Regions from separate parts of the Homo sapiens genome. Here regions 1, 2, 3 and 5 are each linked to region 4. The links are contacts of gene promoters, found by promoter capture Hi-C in blood cells and fetal thymus (Javierre and others, 2016). All regions are on one chromosome and are shown on one strand. The core of a region is centred on a gene start or on the middle of the fragment in contact, and the rest is flanking DNA. Distances in the headings are between cores, read along the strand shown. Region 1 overlaps GAS2 (growth arrest specific 2). Region 2 overlaps GAS2 (growth arrest specific 2). Region 3 overlaps GAS2 (growth arrest specific 2). Region 4 holds the start of SLC17A6 (solute carrier family 17 member 6). Region 5 overlaps GAS2 (growth arrest specific 2).

What was found. The method cuts DNA at HindIII sites, captures the fragments that hold promoters and counts their contacts. A CHiCAGO score of 5 or more calls a contact.
Region 1: a fragment that was not itself captured here is called in contact with the fragment with the promoter of SLC17A6 in region 4 in 2 of 17 cell types (naive CD4 T cells and naive B cells); the score reaches 5.5 in naive CD4 T cells.
Region 2: a fragment that was not itself captured here is called in contact with the fragment with the promoter of SLC17A6 in region 4 in 13 of 17 cell types (erythroblasts, naive B cells, naive CD8 T cells and 10 more); the score reaches 13.3 in erythroblasts.
Region 3: a fragment that was not itself captured here is called in contact with the fragment with the promoter of SLC17A6 in region 4 in 11 of 17 cell types (naive B cells, total CD8 T cells, naive CD8 T cells and 8 more); the score reaches 16.0 in naive B cells.
Region 5: a contact is called between a fragment that was not itself captured here and the fragment with the promoter of SLC17A6 in region 4, in 4 of 17 cell types (naive CD8 T cells, total CD8 T cells, naive B cells and 1 more). The highest score is 8.2, in naive CD8 T cells.

Annotation. Positions count from the first base shown.
Region 1 is chr11:22,681,161-22,683,860 of GRCh38, forward strand. The region is part of intron 2 of GAS2 (growth arrest specific 2); the gene reads left to right. Among named protein-coding and RNA genes, the nearest start is that of GAS2, 16 kb to the left of the region's middle. The HindIII fragment of the contact is 3,764 bases long and covers 1-2,700 here.
Region 2 is chr11:22,807,083-22,809,782 of GRCh38, forward strand. The region is part of intron 7 of GAS2 (growth arrest specific 2); the gene reads left to right. Among named protein-coding and RNA genes, the nearest start is that of LINC02718, 21 kb to the right of the region's middle. The HindIII fragment of the contact is 3,456 bases long and covers 1-2,700 here.
Region 3 is chr11:22,717,832-22,720,531 of GRCh38, forward strand. The region is part of intron 3 of GAS2 (growth arrest specific 2); the gene reads left to right. Among named protein-coding and RNA genes, the nearest start is that of GAS2, 53 kb to the left of the region's middle. The HindIII fragment of the contact is 373 bases long and covers 1,199-1,571 here.
Region 4 is chr11:22,337,044-22,339,743 of GRCh38, forward strand. It overlaps SLC17A6 (solute carrier family 17 member 6), which reads left to right and starts at 1,338. Exons shown (of 12, transcript NM_020346.3): 1 at 1,338-1,576. The coding sequence starts at 1,491. It overlaps SLC17A6-DT (SLC17A6 divergent transcript), which reads right to left and starts at 1,179. Exons shown (of 4, transcript NR_186351.1): 1 at 952-1,179. The HindIII fragment of the contact is 7,348 bases long and covers 1-2,700 here.
Region 5 is chr11:22,698,745-22,701,444 of GRCh38, forward strand. All of the region lies in intron 3 of GAS2 (growth arrest specific 2), which reads left to right. Among named protein-coding and RNA genes, the nearest start is that of GAS2, 33 kb to the left of the region's middle. The HindIII fragment of the contact is 2,861 bases long and covers 1-2,700 here.

The DNA of each region.
Region 1 (2,700 bases), core at 177-2,676, 340 kb after region 4:
TTTCCAGGTGGCCCCAGTCTAAAACACTTATAGGCTGATATGTAAATCTTTATAAAAGTTATGGCAAACATATTTCTGGGAGGAATACACTGATGTGTATGTGTATGCATGTTGATTATAGTTGCCTGGCAAAAGATTTCAGGCAACTGAAATCCCACCATTGAGCTATAATGTTTTAACATAAAGCAACTAGCCACAATATTTAATCAAATTTCCTGATTTTGATCTACTGGCAAGTTGTCATTCTTGACTAAATTAATCATGCGAAGATCAAATATCGCAATTATAAATTTAGGAAGTGAAACTATTACTTCTAAACTAGGACACTCTAGATTAATGTTCAAACCAATGTCTTTACGGACCAGCACCGGTCAGGACTTTAACATGATTTAATTGTATTCATTTATTGTTCTTTCTTTCCCTACAAACACCAACCACAATGAAATGCTGAGGTTAGGGAAGAAATGATTCTCTGGTGCTAAAATCACACTGCTTCCAGTACATGTAGTCTGATGTGTTAAACCAGGTGCACAATTTAAACTAAAGAAGATTTGATTCTGTGTAACAGAGATATTTACCTTTGTATGACTTTTACTTGAGAAAGTGTAATTATTTCTACACAGCCTGTTCTTAAGAATTTGCCATGGATAAATTCAGCTACTTTTATATTATATTTTTTTGAAAAAAATACTGTTGATAATATTAATATTAATGTAATAATGAGATAATATATCATCCCCATATAAAGATTATAACTGATTTCTTACAATCATACATTGATTGTAATCATAAAGTATATATTTAATAATTTTTAATCATTGGAAGGAAAATATGTTACACATGAAGTTATTTTAAAAAGTCTCAGACTTGTGTTTTTTCTTCATTTGAGGTAGTACATTTCAACTATAAAGTATGTAATAGTCTGTTTTTGCCAAAAAAAACTCACCTTTCAGAGCTATAAAATATACAGAATTGAAAGCTGACACCTAATATATTTTTCATTAGATACAGATGTTCAATGTAAAATTCTTTTTACAAGTATTCATGAAAAACAGGATAACTAAAAAGATATAATGTATAAAAAGTAAAAATCATACTTTTTGGTAAATTGTTAATGGCTTTTTAATGAAAGCCATTTTTTTCTTTTTATGATTTATGTGTTGTTTTAAGTATATTGTAACTATCTTATAACTTAAAATTATGAATGGAATCTTCAAATTGCCATAGAACTTAATGAAATAAGAATACATAAAGATCTATTACAAACGTAGAAAATCTTGCAAATAATTTGTAAAGAAATAATTCAACAATTTAGAGTAAAGTTTATCTTCTTTATCTTAAAATTTAAACTTATTTGAATAACATTATAATTAAGAGAATTATTTCTAATATTTACTTTCTGTAATTTTGTGAAATAATTTTCTTATTAGAAAATGTGGCCTGGCGTGGTGCCTTATGCCTGTAATCCCAGCACTTTGGGAGGCTGAGGCGGGCAGATCACTAGGTCAACAGATCGAGACCATCCAGGCCAACATGGTGAAACCCTGTCTCTACTAAAAATACCAAAATTAGGTGGGCATGGTAGTGCATGCCTGTAGTCCCAGCTACTTGGGAGGCAGAGGTTGCAGTGAGCCAAGATCGTGCCACTGCACTCCAGCCTGACGAGATCGCACCACTGCACTCCAGCCTGTGGTTAGTCACTTTCTGCTAAAAAAAAAAAAAAAAAGGAAAAAAAAAAAAAAAAGAGAAAATGCAGGCCAATATGATGAATACACAATACAAATTCTGTTACACTGGCTTTTTTGTATTTTGGGCATGCTACTTTCATTTCTGAACTGAGCTGCACACAATTTTGAAATAAAAGTTCTGCACAGGCTACCTGTGTGGTGAGTATTTAAAGCTACTGATGTTTTTCCACCTGCAGAAGTCATTATTTTAATTGGGGGCTAAAATATGAACTACTTAAAAAGTAATTTGTTTTCCTTAAGACTGCTCCCAAAAATGGAAAAAAAAAGTCATTTTAAGCAGATGTTTCTTGAAATCCAAATATATTAGATATTCTGAGTTTAACTTAAATGGTTCATCTGTTGTTCCAGTCGGATTTTATTTATTTATTTATTTATGAGACAGAGTGTCACTCTGTCACCCAGGCTGCAGTGCAGTGGTGTGATATCTGCTCACTGCAACCTCCGCCTCCCAGGTTCAAGCCACTCTCCTGCCTTATCCTCCCAAGTAGCTGGAATTACAGGCATGTGCCACAATACCTGGCTAATTTTTGTATTTTTAGTAGAGGCAGGGTTTCACCAAGTTAGCCAAGTTGGTCTTGAACTCCTGATCTCAGGTGATCTGCCTGTCTTGGCCTCCCAAAGTGCTGGGATTACAGTGAGCCACTGCACCCGGCCAGATTATATTTATTTTAAGGTTCATGGAATTGAACTACATGCCTGTTTCTTAAGATAAAAGATAAGCCTTGAGCATCTTGGTATAAAACTTTAAAATAATTTCTTTTTTTTTTTTTGCTTTTGACTTAACTGTGTTTCACAAAAATAATATTAATGTTTTCTCAAAGTTTTCTAGCAGCTTATTTCTTCATTTGTTCATTCACATGCTCACTGAGCACATTTACTAGGTGCCTAGTATGTGAATAACATTATGCTTACCTCTGTAGGAGATACAAAAAATAATAATAAAAAAGATATA
Region 2 (2,700 bases), core at 44-2,543, 470 kb after region 4:
TTTTCAGTGTAGCTTAGAAACAGAAAAGCAAAGAAAAAAGAAAAAACGACTCCTTCAAAGCAAGAGAGAAGCATTTTACAGTTCTGATAAATTTATAAGGACCCAAGCTGCAGAGCACTGACTAGGTCCATAGAGAAGATCAGGAAAAATATAAAACTGTCTTTGCAATAATTGGAAAATCCAAACAAACTACTAAGGCTGATACCTAGGAGAAATCTTCCAAGAGAAAGAAACCTCTGATATCTGATTTTACTATTAGTAATGTCCCATTCTTAAGGTGTCCGTATAAGGCAGTGTCTCACGTAAGATGTTTTAAAGGAAGTTGCATCTGTTTCTAAAAGGAAAACAATTCTCTAATTTTGTGGAACATGTTTTTAAAATGTAGCTATAAATTGTCTGTTCATTATTTCCTTTAAAAGCCTGGGAGTGGAAGGAGGTCAGCTCACGCCTTTGGAGAAAAACACCTCTCCAGTTACTGCCTACAGAACAACAGTCAAAGGGAAATTGTTACCAATACACCAGCAGTTTGGTCTTTGTCCTATTGCTCTCTGCGTGGAAAGTCAATCACTAGGCAATGAGTGTTGCCAGGAAAGAAGGCTTTTTCAGGTGCTGCAGCCTGTAATAGGAGATCAGTCCCAAATCCATCTCAACTGACTAAAATTAGGGGTTTATATAGCAGAGAAGAAATATAACTATGTGTAGGAAAACAGGAATTAGGGATGGGCAAGGAGGAGAAGTTGGTTACAAGAAGCAGGTGGTCCCTTAGGCAATCATGATGGGTGAGGGGTCTGGCTCCCATGGTGCAGATGTGATGATCTGGTAAGTTTCAGTTGCTTGACACTGTCTGGGAGTCCTGATGATTGATTTTCTGAGAAAAGAACTCAGATAAGACAGTTTTAACTTTCTCAAATTTTAAGACTGGGAGGGTCAATGTCTATGTTTATTCAAAAGAAATCATAAACATCAGTTCTATGGGACACTTGGGCAAGTTTCAAAAGGATGAGATAATCTCATGAAAAACCTAGATTCGGGTTTCAAAATGAGAAAACAGCAAATATATCCCTCCGCCTCACAATGACACAAAATCAATCAACAAAGATGTATGCCTCCTCCAACTATAGCTCTTATCAAAGGAACCTTCACATGATAAAGCTAGACTTTGGAGATAGATGTTATTCACAAAAATACAATTATGTCCATTAGACTCCTCTTACAAAGGCAGGAAAGTAAACCTAGATACATTGTAAAAGTATTTCCTGCTAATCCTCCCCTATTGACTGTGGTAAGAATATTGGACTGAAACCAACATCTGCAGTAGAAAGGATGTGGAAGAGGAAGTGAGCAGAAATTTAATTCCTGTATTATTCATATTCAGTATGGGACTCTGTTTCATGCTGTATCCACTTTGCAAAGTACTATGGATTCATTAAGAAATTAGCAAACTGAATATGTGCCTAAATGGCCAGCATACTCCAGGCTGAAAAGTGTTTCTGTCACTGCTTCCTAGAATTGTTTAAAAACTGTTGTGACTGGTGGTTCTTTCTGGTTGAAATGGCCTGCTCACAAACACTGAATTAGACTTGGGCATTTTGCCAGGGGCATTGATACCAAGAATGTTTGGAGGCAAGTCTTAAATGTAATTTGCAGAGCTAGGAGGTGCCAGAACTTCAAAATAGGCAAAGTTGCTCTCTCGAACAGTGGTAGAAAGAATCAAAGTGTTATTCTGACACTGGCCTTGGCAGTTTTTGTCCCAGTGACTTCAAATTTTGGAAGCTGGCAGTAAGACACATGCAGAAACTTGTGGGAATATGAATATGTGGATGAAATTATAAAAGCCCTAGTGATTTTATTTCTTTAGTGAAAGCTGTCATGAGTAAAGGACTAGACTGGAGTCAGGTGCTAAGAATCTGGCTCCAGTCCAACCTGACTCCAGTCAGGTTCTTGTTTTACAGAGGCGTACACTGAGAACCAGATCTTTGATTTGATTTGCTTGGGTCCTAAAATCTGGTTCTCAGTGTCTACATATGTAAAACAACATGGTACTGTGACCGAAACACCATGGGTTAGATCCTCTTGCTTGCTACATAGAAAGCTAATCACTAAGACAATGAGTATTGCCAGGGAAGGAGGCTTTATTTGGGTGCTGCAACCAAGAAGAACAAATCAGTCTCGAATTCATTTCACCAATCAATTAAAATTCAGGGTTTCTATAATGGGGAAGGAATGTAGCTACATGTAGGAAAACAGGAATTTTAGGGAGGGGCAAGGAGTCTGGCATTTAATTGTCTGGTGTCATCTGTTCCTTGCCTAAAGGTCAGTTTGCTGAGGAAGAAACTCAGATAAGACCAATTTAAGTTTCAAGTTTAAGACAAGGGAGGGTCAATTTCCATATTTATTTATTATTATTATTATCATTATTATTTGAGATGGAGTCTCACTCTGTCACCCAGGCTGGAGTGCAGTGGCACGATCTCAGCTCACTGCCACCTCTGCCTCCCAGGTTCAAGCAATTCTCCTGTCTCAGCCTCCCGAGTAGCTGAGACTACAGGCGCCTGCCACCATGCCCAGCTAATTTTTTTTTTTTTTTTTTCAGTAGAGATGGGGTTTCACCATATTGGTCAGGATGGTCTCAAACTCCTGACCTCAGGTGATCCACCCACCTCGGCCTCCCAAAGTGTTGAGATTACAGGCATGAGCCAC
Region 3 (2,700 bases), core at 135-2,634, 380 kb after region 4:
AAAAGAAAATATACAAATGGCCAACAAACATCTGAAAAATGCTCAACATCACTAATTATCAGGGAAATGCAAATCAAAACCACAATGTGATACCACCTTCTGCAAGAATGGCCTTAATTTAAAAATCAAAAAATAATAGATGTTGGCATGGCTATGGTAAAAAAAGGAACACTTTTTTTTACTGCTGGTGGGAAATTAAACTAATACAACCACCATGGAAAACAGTATGGAGATTCCTTAAAGAACTAAAAGTGCAAATACTATTTGATCCAGCAATCCCACTACTGAGTATCTACCCAGAAGAAAATAAGTCATTATATGAAAGACACTTACACACGCATGTTTATAGCAGCACAATTTGCAATTGCGAAAATATGGAACCAGCCTAAATATCCATCAACTAATAAGTAGATAAAGAAAATGTGTCATATATATATATATGGTGTGTGTGTGTATGTGTATGTTTGTGTGTATATATGTATCATGGAATACTACTCAGTCATAAAATGGAATGAAATAATGGCATTCACAGCAACCTGAATAGAGTTCGAGACCATTATTCTAAGTGAAGTAACTCAGGAATGGACAACCAAACATTGTGTGTTCTCAGTTATAAGTGGGAGCTAAGCTATGAAGATGAAAAGGCATAAGAATAATATAATGGACTATGGGGACTTTGGGGGAAGGGTGGGAGGGGGTTGAGGGATAAAAGACAGCACAATGGGTACATTGTACACTGCTCAAGTGATGGGTGCACCGAAATCTCAGAAATTATACCTAAAGAACTTAGCCATGTAATGGAACACCACCTGTTTCCCCAAAACTATTGAAATAATAATAATAATAATAAATATTAAAATCTTTCTATTACTCCTCATTATGAACACTGAGATTTCTATTTAAATTTTTTAGATAGGCTCACCAATTGACTTAATTTTAAAGTGTAGAACTAGATTTTTGGAGGTTTTAAGAAATTAATCTCAGTCTGTTCATATGCAAACGATTAGTTGGGAGAAAAGAAGCTGTTCGTAGTTGATGATGATTCCCATGTGGATGTATATATAAATTAGGCACACAGTATATAAAAATGGAAGGAATGCATTTGTTGTCAAACTTCCTATACTTTCCCCTTTGCGAAGCATTTGATACTTCTCAAACTATCAATGACATAGTAATCTTTTTGTAGACATTTTTTTAAAGCTTTGTTAAGGTATAATTAACATGTAACAAAAATTACATATATTTATGGTGTATTTGTGATGTTTTCATATATGCATACGTTATGAAATGATTAAATCAAGGTAATTAAAATATTCATCACTCCACTTATTTTTTTCTGACGAGAACGTTTAAAATCTTCTCTCTTAGCAATTATTATGTGATACATTGTTATTAATAATAGTCACCAGGTTGTACAATAGATCTCCAGCACTTACTCATGCTGGCTAACTGAAACTGTACCCTTGACTAACATCTCCCAAGCCCTCAACCCCTTTCTCCTACCCCTGGCAATCACCGTTCTAGTCCCTGACTTTATGAGTTCAACATTTTTAGATTTCACCTATTAGAGAAGCTTTCAGTTCACAGCAAAATTGAGTGGAAAGTACACCAGAGTGGTATATTTGTTAACAGTCATTGAACCTACATTAACACATTGTCACCCAAAGTCCATAGTTTTTAGGGTTCACTCTTAGTGTTAAACAGTCTGGGTTTTTACAGATGACGTGTATCCACCAATATAATTACATACAGAATAGTTTCACTGACCTAACAATTCTGTGTGCTCTACCTTTTCATCCATCCCTCCCTGCTAAACCCTGATCTTTTTACTGTCTTCATGGTTTGCCTTTTCCAGATTGTCATGTAGTTGGAATCATACAGCCTGTAGTATTTTTTTAGATTGGCTTCTTTCACTTAGTAATATGCATTTAAACTTCCACCTTGTGTTTTCATGACTTGATAGCTCTTTATTTTTAGCACCGAATAATCCATTGTCTGACTTTACAATCGTTTCTTTATTATTCATCTACTAAAGGACATCTTGGTTGTTTCCAACGAACAGAACTGCTATAAGCATCCATGGGCAGGTTTTTAGTAGATATGTTTTCAACTTATTTACATAGTAACTTTTATTGTCCATCTTGTAAGCCTGAGGTTTGAGGACTAGGTTTGACCTTCATTTCAAACATTAGTTTATATTACTCCAGAGATGATTTCAGATAATTCAAAGTGCTGTACTTATTTGCCAACTTTGTTAGTTAAGTGATTAATTTCATGATTTTAGAGGAAGAAAGGTGTACTAAAACTCTGCTCTGAGAAACTTGTTTTATATTTCCTTTTTGTGTATGTGAATATTCCTATGGCATTACAGCATGAATATTGCACTAAAATTTTGATCTAAGATCTGTTCTATATAAAGTGGAATTTATCTTGGAGAGGGAGAAAGCAGAAAGGGTCAATTTTGGATTCAAGCTTAGTGTGTTCAACTGTCCTAAATCATAGCTCACTGCTTGAGGCACAGGGTCTTACTGCAGAGTCCCCAGGAGAGGGTTAAGATACCACAAAGTTTTTTTTCCCTTTTTAAACATTTCTATAATTTTTATCTTAAAGACTATATTTTCATCATTTTTCAAGCCACTTGGTTGTTATAGTTAGATACCTTGATACTATGAATGTTCAAGGAAATAATTTTATTGAAAG
Region 4 (2,700 bases), core at 88-2,587:
ATATATGTAAATTAAAATAAATCTTTTTAAAAATAAATCTTTAAATTATCAATTACAATTTGTTGGCAAGCACAAGGTATAGCCACATATTTCATCAGTATATTGGTATTTCAGTAGTGTATTGTAAATTAGTTAAATAAAGATGCTTAAAATTCCAAGGAATTTATATTAAATTAACTGTATTTTATTTAATCAACTTCACTGAGTTTATAGCTATTCTTTTTTCTTCTCTCCATACCTCCCACCTCTTTTTCTTTATCTCTCCTTTCCTCTATTCTTCATTCTCTCCCTTTCTTTCTTTCATCTTTTTCCTGTCAGGAGTTAAAACAAACACATGAACAATGTAATTATGTATTTTGTGTGCACATATTTTATATTCAAGGGAGCCTAGGTGTCTTGGAACACCACAAGCATAAGTTAAATATGTTGAAATCTTTCTTCCCTGCAATACTGGCATCAGCGTGCTGGACAAAACGTAGCAAACTAGAAGTAACTTGTGAATTTTTAATAAAGTTGTCTTCCCTAGCAGAGCTAAATGCACCATTCTCCCTGCAAACTCTGGAGATGATGACATCTTCCCAATGGTTTCCATAGCATCCGTTCCTGAAGAGCCCCCGTATGGTCCTTGGTCAGGGCGATCCGCCCAGCTCCCCTAGAAAGTTGGCAACCTAGCTAGCCAAAAGAAGAGTCCCCTATTCCTGAAACTTACTCTGTCCGTGGTGCTGAAACATTGTACCGAGACCCGCCCAGACGGGCGCTGTCAGCCGCTGAAAAAAAAAATCTTCCCCGAGGCTGCCCAAATCAGAACTGTGTATCTTTTATTTACTCACGTCCTCAAAGAGCAGCAAGCCTTCTCCATCTTAATTTGACTCTACCGCAGAGCAGACTTACGCTGGCGTGATGGGAGGAGATCATGGGCAGAGAGGAAAAACTAATAGCAGCATTGCTCACCTGAGACCTGAGATGCTCCCATGAGTTTTGAATATGCTCTGCTCCTTACAGCAAAGACACCATTTTTAAAAGTACCATTCTTTTGACTTTGCTGTTCCCAAGGCTTCTGTGATATTCCGGCCCCTCCGTTTAAAAGCCATCAGATTTGAGAGCAATAAGTCTTCAAAACCGGGAATTTACATTGTTTTTCAGCTGACCGACTTCCAGGAAAAGGACTCAACCGCATCTACCCAAATACCGTGGCACTGCTTGCGCTCTTTGCCACCGGATCCTCCCCTTCCAATGAGACTTTCTGATTGTGTCTACCAACTCTCCTATTAGGAAACCCGTGGGTTGCATGCAGCTATTCTGTTGTATTCTCATTCTCACTCTCCCTCCCTTCTCTCACTCTCACTCTTGCTGGAGGCGAGCCACTACCATTCTGCTGAGAAGGAAAAGCCCGCAACTACTTTAAGAGATTAAGACAATATGCGCAATCCTCGCCTTTCCTAGCAATCACTATTTAAATCTGGCAAGAACTGACAACAGTCTTTGCAAGAATGGAATCCGTAAAACAAAGGATTTTGGCCCCAGGAAAAGAGGGGCTAAAGAATTTTGCTGGAAAATCACTCGGCCAGATCTACAGGTAAGACAAAGCGAACACTTGCTTACCTGGGGCTCAGCATGAAAAAATCTGCAGGGCCGTTTCCGTAAACCCTGGTGGCTCAGAAAGATTGTAATATGATCGGAAAGTCTTTTTGTTGCCCATTGCTTGGAGCGGGGGTGCTCTGGAAACCTGCTTATTAATGCAGGAATGTTGCACTAAATGAACCTGTCTGGTGTGTGTGTGTGTGTGTGTGTGTGTGTGTGTGTGTGTGTTTGATTTTTGCTTTGGTGCCTGCAGAGTTTTTGTCCTTTACTACACAGGATTTATCTTCTTTACAGTTAAGAAATGGCCAGCCCCTGCTCAAACAGCGTTTCTTTTGGTGCTTATAGATACCCCGAATTAAATTCCTTTGATGCAGACAAATGAATATAAAACACAACCATCTAAAAAAATAACCAAGAAATTCCAAAGAGTAATGGTTTATATATATATATATGTTATATATATATGTTATATATATATGTTATATATATATGTTATATATATATGTTATATATATATGTTATATATAGTTATATATATATGTTATATATATATGTTTTATATATATATATATATATATATGTTAGAGAGAGAGAGAAAGAGAGAGGTCTCAGCTTCAAAAGCATAGTAGAGAATCCCCTAGTGAAATATGTCTTCTGTATTGAATGAAGAAGAATCAAAATATATCAATAATTGATAGTTGAAGCAATTCCTTTCTCTGAGCCTGAAACAATGTATATGCATTTTTAATTATTTTCATCTCCTAGAGTCTATTTCTTGCATAGGAAATGTCAATGCCTGGAAGAACAGCCATAAATATAACAAGCAACATTACTTTGAAAGTCCTAGAAATGATTTAATTATTTAATCCTCCTGTAGTCACTATACTAATTATGCTGTAATTTGCAAAACTTTAAATCATTTCAAGTATGTTATATGGATACAGCTTTTCTTAATAATTAGAGCAAAATCAAGACGACAGGGCAGACATAAAAGGAAAAAGAATTACAAAGGAGCACTAATTTTAATATTTGGGAAATTGAAGTCTCTGTAAATGCATGAGAAATGTAAAGAAAATGATCAAACCACTCCCAGATTTTCCAAATCTCTTCAGGTTTGGC
Region 5 (2,700 bases), core at 95-2,594, 360 kb after region 4:
ATAAACAGAACCAAAGATAAAACATTGTTTTAAGAAGAGGTGACCAAACAGTATAAAACAAGAATATTTAAGAAAATGTGAAGTAGCATTCATTCATGCAGTTAATTAATAAGAAATATTATGTTGTTTTTCTGTGCTTTGTGATGGTTCTAGTGTTTACCATCTTTTAAAAGTTATTAATTTCTTGTGCTTTATTTTATTAGGCTAAAATGTTTAATTCCATATCTTATTTTGTGTTTATAATTCTGTTGTTTTCTATAAGGAAAGCACCCAAATAAAATAAGCTCAAGCCCCCACAAAATCTGTTTCTTTTCTAGCCCCTGTGTAAATAGCATAGGCTGCTAGTTTTCTATTCCACAGTTGTGTTCCATTATCGGTCTCAACACCAATTCCAAATATAACATATTTTTCTGAGTCCTGACAACTTAACTCCATACTCTGGTACCAAAGAAATTTTTGGAAAAGATGAATTTATTGAGATAAATGTACAGAATGAAGGGAGAATTCTAAATGAGGGGAGTAATGATCTCAAGTCTTTACTGTACCCCTTCCTTCAAATCTACAAAGGGACCCAAACTCTTTACTATGCATTCAGGGAAGAGAAATGCCTTGTGGGGAATCAGGTGACAGGTAGATTTTTTAAATCTGAAATTATTGGAAAAGATGAATTTACTGCCAAAAGAATGTATTGGAAAGATATGGGGGTACTGCTTAGAGAAAAAAGACATGTGAAGGAAAGTGAAACTGGATTTGGAGGGCTTAAGAATTAGACTATTTGCAAGGATTATGCAGCATAGATACACAGTCATTTCACAGTACCACTGTTAGGGTGAATAATTTCAGACATTTTTAGAGAGGGCAGCTGAACAGAAATGGTTAATAGTGTATACTCAGTAGTCATACTACCTGGGTTGAAATCATAACTCCTCCTCTGTGCGTTAGTTTTCTCATTTGTAAAATGTAGTAATAATTGTAGCTACCTCATTTGGTTATTATGGGGACTAAGTAAGTTAGTATACACAAGCACTGAGTGGTACCTAGTACATATGGGTGCTCATTAACATTTAGCTGTTAACTTTATTGTATCATTCCTCTCAAGATTAACATTTCAGCAAGAAAGAGCCTGATGGACAGCCAACTTTCTGACTAGATCATGGCTTCATACCTTGATTGCTCAGTCTGAATAAAATGAAAGAACCATAGTGTCCCTATGGAAAATTAATATGCTCTTACCTAAGAAGGGAAAAGGATACTGGAAGTGTAGAGATGCCCTTGCAGTCTCTACACTCTGTATCTGTAGATCTGGCCTCTTTCTTACGGTTTGTCCATCTGCATGTTAACCCCTCTTTCTTGTACCATACTGTTGTACTTAGTTGTTTCCTAGTCTTTATCCCTTTGCTAGACTCTAAGATCCTTGAGTACATAGTTTATGTTCTATTCATCTGTGAGTCTAACATAATACCTAGCATATAGATGCTCAGTAGACATGGTGTTGGATGAATGAATAAATAAATGCCCCAAGATGGATATTTACCTTTAGATCCAGAATACTGTTATCCGTGGGTTTTAGCCATCTTTGCTTTTTAATCCTGAAGACTTTATTCTCATTAAGTTTGAAATTCCCCCCTCTGCCTGTTTGCTTAGCTCAAAAGCCTTTGATGTGACAAAGCATGAGGAGCAAATCTGACTTTTCCAGTCGTAAAGACGGAAGATTTGAGAATTTTAGAATGGTCTAGGGAAACAATAAGGATCTGAGGACGTTAAAAGCACTGACAAGAGATTGGCTGAAGTAACAGACCATGGGGATTTAAACTAGTTAAGAAAAAGTGGATCTTGGAGGAGGATAATCATTTAGTTAATTGTAAATGTTATTATATAGTGACATGATGTATTATTTGAGTTCAGAGCATTATATAAAGGTAAAAATTATGATAAAAATGAGCATATTTATATCCAATGGTTCATTCAGTTTGAGGATTTCTTTTCAAGGCCTGATTATACTGCTTGCAGTATAAAATAAGCATCAGATGAGCGATAGCTAATGGTTTCATGAATTTGCTCACCATTGAAAATTAGGAAGAAAAATTAAATTGTAGGGCTTTTAGGTAACAGGTTCTCAAAAGATGTTTTTGACCTGAAACGAAGTGCTGTGTCTTTCGATTACTAGAGGAGACATAAAGATGAAATCATTTTTTTTCTTTTGCATCTTTTTCCCAATAACTGCCTCTTTTGCTCAATAAAATAGTTGGTGAGGGAAATGAGAATATTAGAACCTTTATTTTCTATCAGAGCAGCTAATTGCTGTCTGCCAAAGCACTATTTAACAACCAATGTAAAAATACAATTTCTATAAAACTGCAGGAGAGAATCAGAATTCTAGTACTTAGGAAAACTGCACAGTAAATACTGCTATCGACTTTCTGAAAATGTGTTATTAAACAATAGGTAACTCAAAAGGAGTTAAATATGATCATGGAGTATAGCAAGTTCATTTTATCAATCTTTTATAATATTGAATATTACCAACAACAAATATTTTATAATAATTGAGTCCTACTTATATATGTTACTTTAAAATTGGATAGTTTGAGTATATGTTAGCAACAAGAGATGATGTTATTGGCTGTGGGTGTTAATGTGCATTTGTCTTCATGGTGAGAAAGATAGTTGTGATTTAAAGGGTGTGATTTAAATGAAGAT